Regions from separate parts of the Homo sapiens genome. Here region 1 is linked to region 2. The links are contacts of gene promoters, found by promoter capture Hi-C in blood cells and fetal thymus (Javierre and others, 2016). All regions are on one chromosome and are shown on one strand. Each heading gives the region's core, a stretch centred on a gene start or on the middle of the fragment in contact. The rest is flanking DNA. Distances are from core to core; before and after follow the strand shown.

Region 1 (4,141 bases), core at 1,616-4,115, 130 kb before region 2:
TACTCATTAGAATTCAGCTTGTGAAAAAGAATCAGTAGAGGTGTAATAATAGTGTTTTTAACATTTTAATTAATAAGGAGTTCCAAGTTTTTTTCCTGCTTACTTTAAACATGAACTGTCATGACTTAAGTTGACTGACTTTGGAGACATCTGCATTCTAAACATACTAGACAGGAACAACTGGTTTTATTTTTAAGACGCTGCCATATTCTTTAAAGCTGGTTATATGTTGACCTTATTATCTAAACCTTTCTAGATGTTCTAGTGCTGCTTTTGGTCCCTCAATAATGTTGAAAATTAAAACAACATTTTAAATTGTTTTCAAATGTAACATAGTGATCAAAGGAAAATATAAGCTATAGTTTAAAAGTGAAAACAACATATTAGGATAAATACTAAACCACTGAATTACTAAAAGCCAAGAGTGCTCAGTAGTCTGAGTAACCACATTCTAAAATTAGACAAGTGACATTCTTTGGGTTGCTCTTTGTTTCTCAGCTTTTCATCTTTAAAATGTTTGCTAAATAAGATATAACCTTTCACACTTATGTATCATTAGTCTGAGGGTTTCAAAATTCAAGAAAGAATAAAAACATCAGGACAATAAAAGAGAAAGGACTTACAATAGTTAAAACAAGCTAAGATATTTCTCCTAACACCACAGTATTCTTAACTGTGCAAGATGACTTTTGATTTCAGGCAAAAATTGCACATAGATTTAATCATTATTTTTTAATAAACCTTGGCTTAAGGATTTTTTTACCTGCAAATTTAGGATTTCTCTTCTTGCTTTGCTGGAACCCACAATAAAAGGTGAAAAGGAAATAATTCCCATTTGAACAAACCCTGAATATGAGATAGGATGAAGTGATACAATAAGAGGGGTGCTGGCAGTGAGGTTGATGTCACAATTCTGCCATTGAGTAGCTCCATGGCCCTTGTTGGACAAGATCCTGTGCCTCCATTTTCTCATGGCAGTTGAAGGGTTAGTCTAGTATCAGCATAATCCAATAGAAGTTTCTGCAATGATGGAAATTTCCTATATCTTTGCTGTCCAGTTACGGTAGCCACTAGCCACATGTGGTTGTTGAGCACTTGAAATGTAACTAGTGGAACTAAAAATTGAAGAACTCAATTTTTAATTTTGCTGTTTTAGGCAATGTAAATTTAAGTAGCCAAATGTCTGGCATACTGGACATACACACATAGAACACTGTTTTCTAAGCATAACTAATCATTATAATCACTTCTTGGAGGCTCTTGTTAAAATACTAAACTTCTCTCCTATAACTTATTTAGTAGGTCTGCAGTGGGTCCTGGGAATGTGTTTTTAATGTATACCCCAGAAAGTTTATCAGGTTGGTTAGGGAAACACTCCATTAGGAGATTTCTGAGGTCCCTTCGAGTTCTCACTTTAGCACTGATAATTTAGAATTTAGTCTAGTAGAAGTGAGCTCTGGACAAAGTCAGCAAGCTACCTCTCTGAACTGCGATCTTAGGTGAGTTGTGTAACCTCTTTGAAAGCTTCACTTTCCTCATCTGAAATACAGGGTGAACATCAGCCCTGCCTCCTGTAGTTTCTGTAAACCTCCACTCAGATGTTATGCCCGCTGTTTAAAAAAAGTAAGCTGCTATAAAAGATGAGACAAGTCATAAGATAAAATGTTAAGATGTGTTCCCAGGCTTTCCTTCTTTTTCCTTTTTCACTATGTTTAATTCCTACTACTAGTCTTTTAAAACTGGTTGTATATAATACTCATTAGTTTGTTCAACGTTGTGGCCCAATTATTTGGCCACCGTTTGCAGTCTTAATTGTAGGACAGGAATGTTAAGTCTAATACTTCTTTGTATTTCTGGTGCTAAGCATAGTGATTTGTATATATCGTTCAATAAATATTGGTTAATATTAACCAGGTGTGTTGGCTAACGCCTGTAATCCCAATACTTTGAGAGCCCAGGACAGGCAGATTGCTTGAACCCAGGAGTTCAAGATCAGCCTGGGCAACATGGCGAAACCCTGTCTCTACAAAAAAAAATTACAAAAATTAGGTGTGGTGGCACACCCCTGTAGTCCCAGCTACTCGGGGGCAGAGGTGGGAGGATTGCTTGAGTCTGGTGGGAGACCCAGGTTGAAGTGAGCCATGATTGTGCCACTGGACTCCAGCCTGGGCGACAGAGTGAGACTCCGTCTCAAAAAAAAAAAAAGGAAAAAAAAAAGGTTATCATCATCTATTACTTTAAGACTTCTAAGCTTTAAAATTTGCTAGAGATTATTTTATACACCAGAGAAGTAGCCCCCTTGTGTATCTGTATGTGTTTAACCCATCTTTGTTTAATTATTAACACCCTGTAGTTACTATTGTTCAGTGATTTTATATCTTCTGAGCAACCAGTTCCAAATATATTTTTTAAAGGTAAACACCAAGAGAATGTTATCATTTCAGATCAAGTGTTTTTAGGTTATATCAGATCAATATGATACTGAATAAGCTGTTGAATTTACTTTCTCTTTTCTTTTTTTTTTTGAGATGGAGTCTTGCTCTGTTGCCCAGGCTGGAGTGCAGTGGCATGAGCTCGGCTCACTGCAGTCTCCGCCTCCCGGGTTCAAGTGATTCTTCTGCCTCAGCCTCCCGAGTGGCTGGGACTACAGGCAAATGCCACCACACCCAGTTCATTTTTGTATTTTTAGTAGAGGTGGGGTTTCATCATATTGGCCAGGCTGGTGTCAAACTCCTGACCTTGTGATCTGCCCGCCTCAGCCTCCCAAAGTGCTGGGATTACAGGCGTGAGCCACTGCGCCTGGCCCGTCTCTATGTTAACATACTAATAAATGATCTTGTTTGATCATTCAGACCACATTCGCCCTACAGACCCAGCTTGAGTATGAATTCTATTATTGGGGTAGAATTGATAGCTGATAATGATCTCAGGGAATCTCTAGGCCACTGCATGTTTCAGACTTAATTTTGATATGGTCATCTTATTTTTAATTAGCTTTCCAGGTTTGTACTTAAGGATTCATAGCTTTCTTCGGAAGAACTGAAAGCCTATTCATGTGAATTTTTTTATTTTATCATACATCCTTCCTGTGTGGTAAGTGATGTTTTTCTTATTTAGAAGAGAGGGAAACTGAGACCCAAGTAATTGTTACATCCGAAGTCATAACAGTGATAGGTCTAGAAGTTGAACCCAAAGAGGTAGAAATTTGTATTTCTTGTAGATCAAAGAATCACTTCCTTTTGTTCACTGTTGCTTTAAATCTTAAAATATTGCTATGTAGAATATTGTCCTCTCCTATCATTCTCCTGGGTACTTTTCCATTTCTTTAGATGGGTTATTCAGAATATTATTGCTTTTGGTTTCCTCTTGATTGTATCATTGACATGAATTTATTCTTGCTTGCACATTGAATTTGTGGGAAATAAAAACTCAGTAATCCCAAATCCTTACCATTTATGTTCCTCGTAACAGTAAGCTTAGAAAGAAAGAAGGCATTTCTCTTTACACTGATGAGTTTTATCACTATACCAGAATGTGCTTTCATCCTCATAGTATAATAGAATGAAAAAGAGGCCTGCAGGAGCTAAATAGCTCTTGAGCTCCTACCAAGTTCAGTCATTGTAGAGTATGTATTAATCTCTGTTTACTACTTTGTGATCTCATGCATACAACATTCAAATTTAAGATTCTAGAAAATATTTGCTCCATAGCTAAATATAAAAATTTGAAAATTATGTGAGCCACTGCTCCCAGTGGGTTTGGATAATGAAGAATTGGTTGACTTCTGATGAGTTTATTCATATCTGGTGAGTTTACTCATATTGAAATTACACTATTATTAATATTACTTGGCTCCATGTTTATTGACACCTGCATTTAAGATTTCAAGTGTTTTCTGTCATTTCTCCCAGAGATGTTTAGTTTTGTTGGAACTTTTGTTTGGTTATACCAATAAGTTAATGACTATGCTTTTTAATTCCCTTGTAGATTTCATAGGGAGGATGGTTTACCTAAGTGACAGTTACAGTAGGACAATGAAGTTCTGTTGTGATTTGTGATCTCTTCTTTAATTTTGTCACTATAAAAACCTTTTATTTTTTATTATAGAAGTACACCTATAATGTTTTAAAAAAGAAAAATA
Region 2 (4,570 bases), core at 83-2,582:
GGTGGGAAGTACTTAAACTTGTAAACCCCAAGCTAAGGGTAGTTATGATCCCGGTGGGTGGCCAATTCTCCCCTTAAACCTATGTTTATCCTGCCTTTCCTCCCCCTTTTCTTAAACGAGTCGGGACGGAGAGCTGAGTCACCTGAGACACAGAGAAGGGACTTTTGAGAGTGTCTTCCGTCCCATTTGCGGACGTTAGATGAGCACACCGGGATCCTTGACTCAGCCCGCTCTAGGCGTGGGCGTTGTGTCATTCCCCACACGTGACACTCTCCCAGGCGGCAGAAACCTCACTTGTCATGGGACTTATTCACTCCAGTGACTCCACCCCTTACCTCCTCTGTTCCCCAACCTCCCACTTACCCTTTCCGCCCCACTTCAAGACTTGAGGAGAGGAGGGTGGCTGGAGCCTGGAAATGTCCCCGTCCCAAGTTGGCCAGAAGTAGCAGACACACTATGTGGGAAAGTGCCACATGTAACGTTCCAGTTTCACCCTTCTCCAGAATGCTATCACCCTTCCTGTTTATTTTTTAATAACTTGAGATATAATTCACACGCCATATGATTCACTCACTTAACGTGTAAAGTTGAATGTCTTTTAGCATATTTAGAGTTGTGTATTCATCACTATAATACATTTTTTAGAACATTTTTATTATCCCAAAACGAAATCCCATACCTATTAGCAGTCACTCCCATTTCCCCTCATCTCACCCTTGCTCTTCCATAGCACAAAACAGTTCTATTCTATTCGAGACCACCTTTCCACTTGGGCAGACCCTGGTTATGGTTTTTTTTCCCTCCCTTTCTGTTTCCAGTTTTTTTCGGAGCCCGGAATTCTCAATCTGGGTAATTGGTTTGAGTCCCGGCTCAGCCCGTTTCCCGTTGTAGCTGCGTGACCTTGAGAGCAACGCCACTTTCCTGGGCCTAGTTTCTTTGTCTGTGAAACGAGGTCCAAATATCTACCTCTTTACGCCTGTTGTGGGGATGAAGTGAGTAGGTGCTTTGTGAGCTTTAAAAAGCCATAGAAATGCCAGCTAAGTTAACTCGTCACTCTTCCCGAACCCCTCCCTTTCCCCTGGGACCCGCCCCGCGAATCCCGCTGTGGATGGATACTTCTCCCCACCCGCCGACCGCAGTCTTTCCCATTGGCGCCCGCACCGTCTTCGCGGCGCCGGGTGTTGACGCCATGGCTTCCTCCGCCAGCGCCCGAAGACGCTTGGCCCCGCCCCCGGCCGCGCCTGGCCTCCCGCGGCGCCCCGCCCATCGGGCCGACGCGGCGCCGGCCCCGCCCCGCGGATGACGTGTGGCGCGCGCGGCCGGGCCGCCCCGGCAGTTGGTGCAGCGGCGGTTGGGGTGAGAGCGCCTACGCCACCCCTCCCCTCCTCCGGCCCCGGCCCCCACCCCGCCGGGCCCAGCCCCAGCCCCGGCCCGGGCTCCAGCCCTAGTACCCGTCCCAGCCCGAGTCGGGTCCGTCCCGTGCGGGCAGGTGCCGCCCCTCTGCCGGCGACGCCCCGGGCCGCCCGCCCGTCCGCTTGCCACCATGGAGCTGGAGGACGGTGTGGTGTATCAGGAGGAGCCCGGCGGCTCCGGGGCCGTGATGTCGGAGCGGGTGTCCGGCCTGGCCGGCTCCATCTACCGCGAGTTCGAGCGGCTTATCGGGCGCTATGACGAGGAGGTGGTCAAAGAGCTGATGCCGCTGGTGGTGGCTGTGCTGGAGAACCTGGACTCGGTGTTCGCGCAGGACCAGGAGCACCAGGTGGAGCTGGAGCTGCTGCGGGACGACAACGAGCAGCTCATCACCCAGTACGAGCGGGAGAAGGCGCTGCGCAAGCACGCTGAGGAGGTGAGGCCGGCGGCAGGGCGGGGGCCGCGGGATCCGTCTCCGGGGGCGGCCGGGGCGGGGTCGCGGCCCGGTCGGGGACTAGAGGCGCGACGGGCCTCCTGGAGGGCGGGCCTGAGGCCGATGCCCCCTGGGACCGATCCCGGCGGCCTCCAGGTACCCCGGGAGCCAGGCCGGCGTTGGAAGCCGAGGCCGGCTACTGAGTGTCCTGGGAAGGGAGCGAGATGGAGGAGGCAGGGCCCGGGGAGGAAGCGGCAGCCTGGCCTGAGGACACCTGGGGTTGGCCAAGGGCGGAGATTGTTGGGTGTCTGGTTGCTTCTTGTTGAGGGAAGTTTCCGACCACCGTGGGATAGTCAGATGGCGGTTCAAAGTTTTACCCTTGGGGAGGGGGACACTTCTGCCCTGGATATGTAACTTCCGCTAGTTCCAGTACCTTTCCAGGGGGTTGCCTTGCTTTGGGAAGTTAGAGATCTCCCTCTTTCGGTCAGTTTCTTCTTGACGTTTTAATCTTGTTGAGAAAGACGTCTTATTTTATGTTCTATGTGCCTTGGTTGACACTTTGTCAACTTTTAGATGTTGTGTGGCAGTACTCAATAAATATATAAACAATTTCGTTGGTATCCCAAACCAAAGCATTCCTCCGTATCAGGTTGTAACCTTGGACAGTTCCCTTCAAAAACCCTCCGTTTATTTATAAAAAGGATTGGGGGGCGGGGTTGGGAAGATGTAGGTGACAGTTGGCAACACTTTTTCCGTCTGAGTTTCCTTCTTAGACTGCTGTTTATACGTGCATTTGGCCACCTGTTAACTCTAGCACCCGAGCAGTGACCTGGGCGCCCTCACCTCGACTCTGTGAACCTTTTGGAGTTCTAGGGTGCAAGTGATAGGTCCTTGGCTTCTTGAGACTGACAAGGAGTTTAGCTTTCAGCCTGCGTTGGCGTTATTTCTGTGGACCTTATCAAAGGCAGGTGATGTGTCCTATTTTTGTTTCTCAAGCACCTAGCACACCTGCTTAAATACATGGTGATCAAAGGAGGCGAAATAACTAATTATTGAAGGAATGACATAGTATTTTTCAAAAAGACTTGAAGAGTTTTTAGGATGTGAGGTTTGTAGCTCATTTCCTGACACTGAATAGTAACACCATTAAATTTTTGTTTTATTTTGTCACGTATACCTTTGCATCTGGTTAAATAGTTCTTTTTCCTTTTTTAAAAGCTTGACTGTAGTGATGATTTTTAGTTCTGATTGTGGGATCCAATTTTCTCAAAGGAATGCTATTGAATTTGCCAAACAAAATTGCCTTTTTTTTTTTTTTTTTTTGAGACGTAGTCTCACTCTGTCGCCCAGGGTGAAGTGCAGTGGAGTGATCTTGGCTCACTGCAACCTCTGCCTGCCGGGTTCAAGCGATTCTTGTGCCTCAGCTTCCTAAGGAGCTAGGACAACACTCCCCGCTCATTTTTGTTTTTTGTAGAGACAGGATTTCTCCATGGTGCCTAGGATGGTCTTGAACTCCTGGCCTCAAGTGATCTGCCCACTTTGGCCTCGGGCTGACCATCCCAGTGCTGGGATTACAGGCATGAGCCACCGCACCCCGCCAGAATGGACTATTTCAAGAGCTTTTCCTTTCATATAGGGAAGGAAGGGATGAAAAACCAAATAATGATAGGATCACAATTTCCGCTTGTTTGTTAGCACTCTTTATAGAACAGAGGTCAAGTGCTACTTGCTGCTTCATGCTCATATAGCCCCTTGCCAGTGTGTGGATATACATGGAAGTGACTGGGAATTAACCACATGTACACACAGGTGACAAGCAAGCCTGACATGACCTTTTACCTCACGTAAAATAAATGCTCCCTCCAGCCTTAAACTCCTGTCAGTCCGTGTAAATATGGGCAAAATGCCAGGGTCACACGTGCCAAGAAAACCATCTGCCACAGGTTGCAGAATCAGAAAACAAAATTGCCCGACTGCTAGACTCTGGGTTCCCTATTAATTTCTTGAGTAAATGACTCTAAAAAAAATAGGTTATCCAATGAATTTATTTGTAGTTTATATTTTTTCAGTTACATCTGTAAATTCTCCATAGTGAAACCATTGGGCAAAGGGTCATGACCTGAGAACAGAGAACATTTATGAAATGCTAAATGAGCCCACTCCCAGGCCACAAACATAAACACACCTTGTTATCAGTTTTCTTTTCTCTTTTTTTTTTTTTTTGAGACAGAGTCTCTCTCTGTCGCCAGGCTGGAGTGCAGTGGCACGATCTCGGCTCACTGCCTCCCGGGTTCAAGCAATTCTTCTGCCTCAGCCGCCCGAGTAGCTGGGACTATAGGCACGTGCCACCCCGCCCAGCTAATATGTATATATATTTTGTATTTTAGTAGAGACGGGGTTTCACCTTGTTGCCCAGGCTGGTCTTGAACTCCTGAGCTCAGGCAATCCACTCGCCTCAGCCTCCCAAAGTACTGGGATTACAGATGTGAGCCACCACACCCGGCCATCAGTTTTCACATAAGATCATAAATTGTGTGTTGCTCAGTATCCAGAAATTGTCTCCCTTTGGCCAATATGTAGAGTGAATTCTGTGTTTAGTTTTCTGTGAGTGCTTTGTTTGCGCCTTTTTTTTTTTTTTTTTTTTTTTTGAGACGGAGTCTTGCTCTGTCACCCAGGCTGGAGTGCAGTGGCACAATCTTGACTCACTGCAGCCTCCGCCTCCCGGGT

The links. Contacts are between HindIII fragments. The CHiCAGO score rates a contact against its expected background, and 5 or more counts as called.
Region 1: a contact is called between a fragment that was not itself captured here and the fragment with the promoter of SPAG9 in region 2, in 1 of 17 cell types (fetal thymus). The highest score is 5.1, in fetal thymus.

What each region holds. Positions count from the first base shown.
Region 1 is chr17:51,253,665-51,257,805 of GRCh38, reverse strand. The region is part of intron 2 of MBTD1 (mbt domain containing 1); the gene reads left to right. Among named protein-coding and RNA genes, the nearest start is that of MBTD1, 4.3 kb to the left of the region's middle. The HindIII fragment of the contact is 1,224 bases long and covers 2,254-3,477 here.
Region 2 is chr17:51,117,630-51,122,199 of GRCh38, reverse strand. SPAG9 (sperm associated antigen 9) reads left to right here and starts at 1,332. Exons shown (of 30, transcript NM_001130528.3): 1 at 1,332-1,846. The coding sequence starts at 1,544. RefSeq lists enhancers at 1-240, 850-1,079, 596-1,410, 1,700-1,819 and silencers at 1,220-1,599, 1,850-1,929, 1,950-2,079. The HindIII fragment of the contact is 3,961 bases long and covers 1-3,063 here.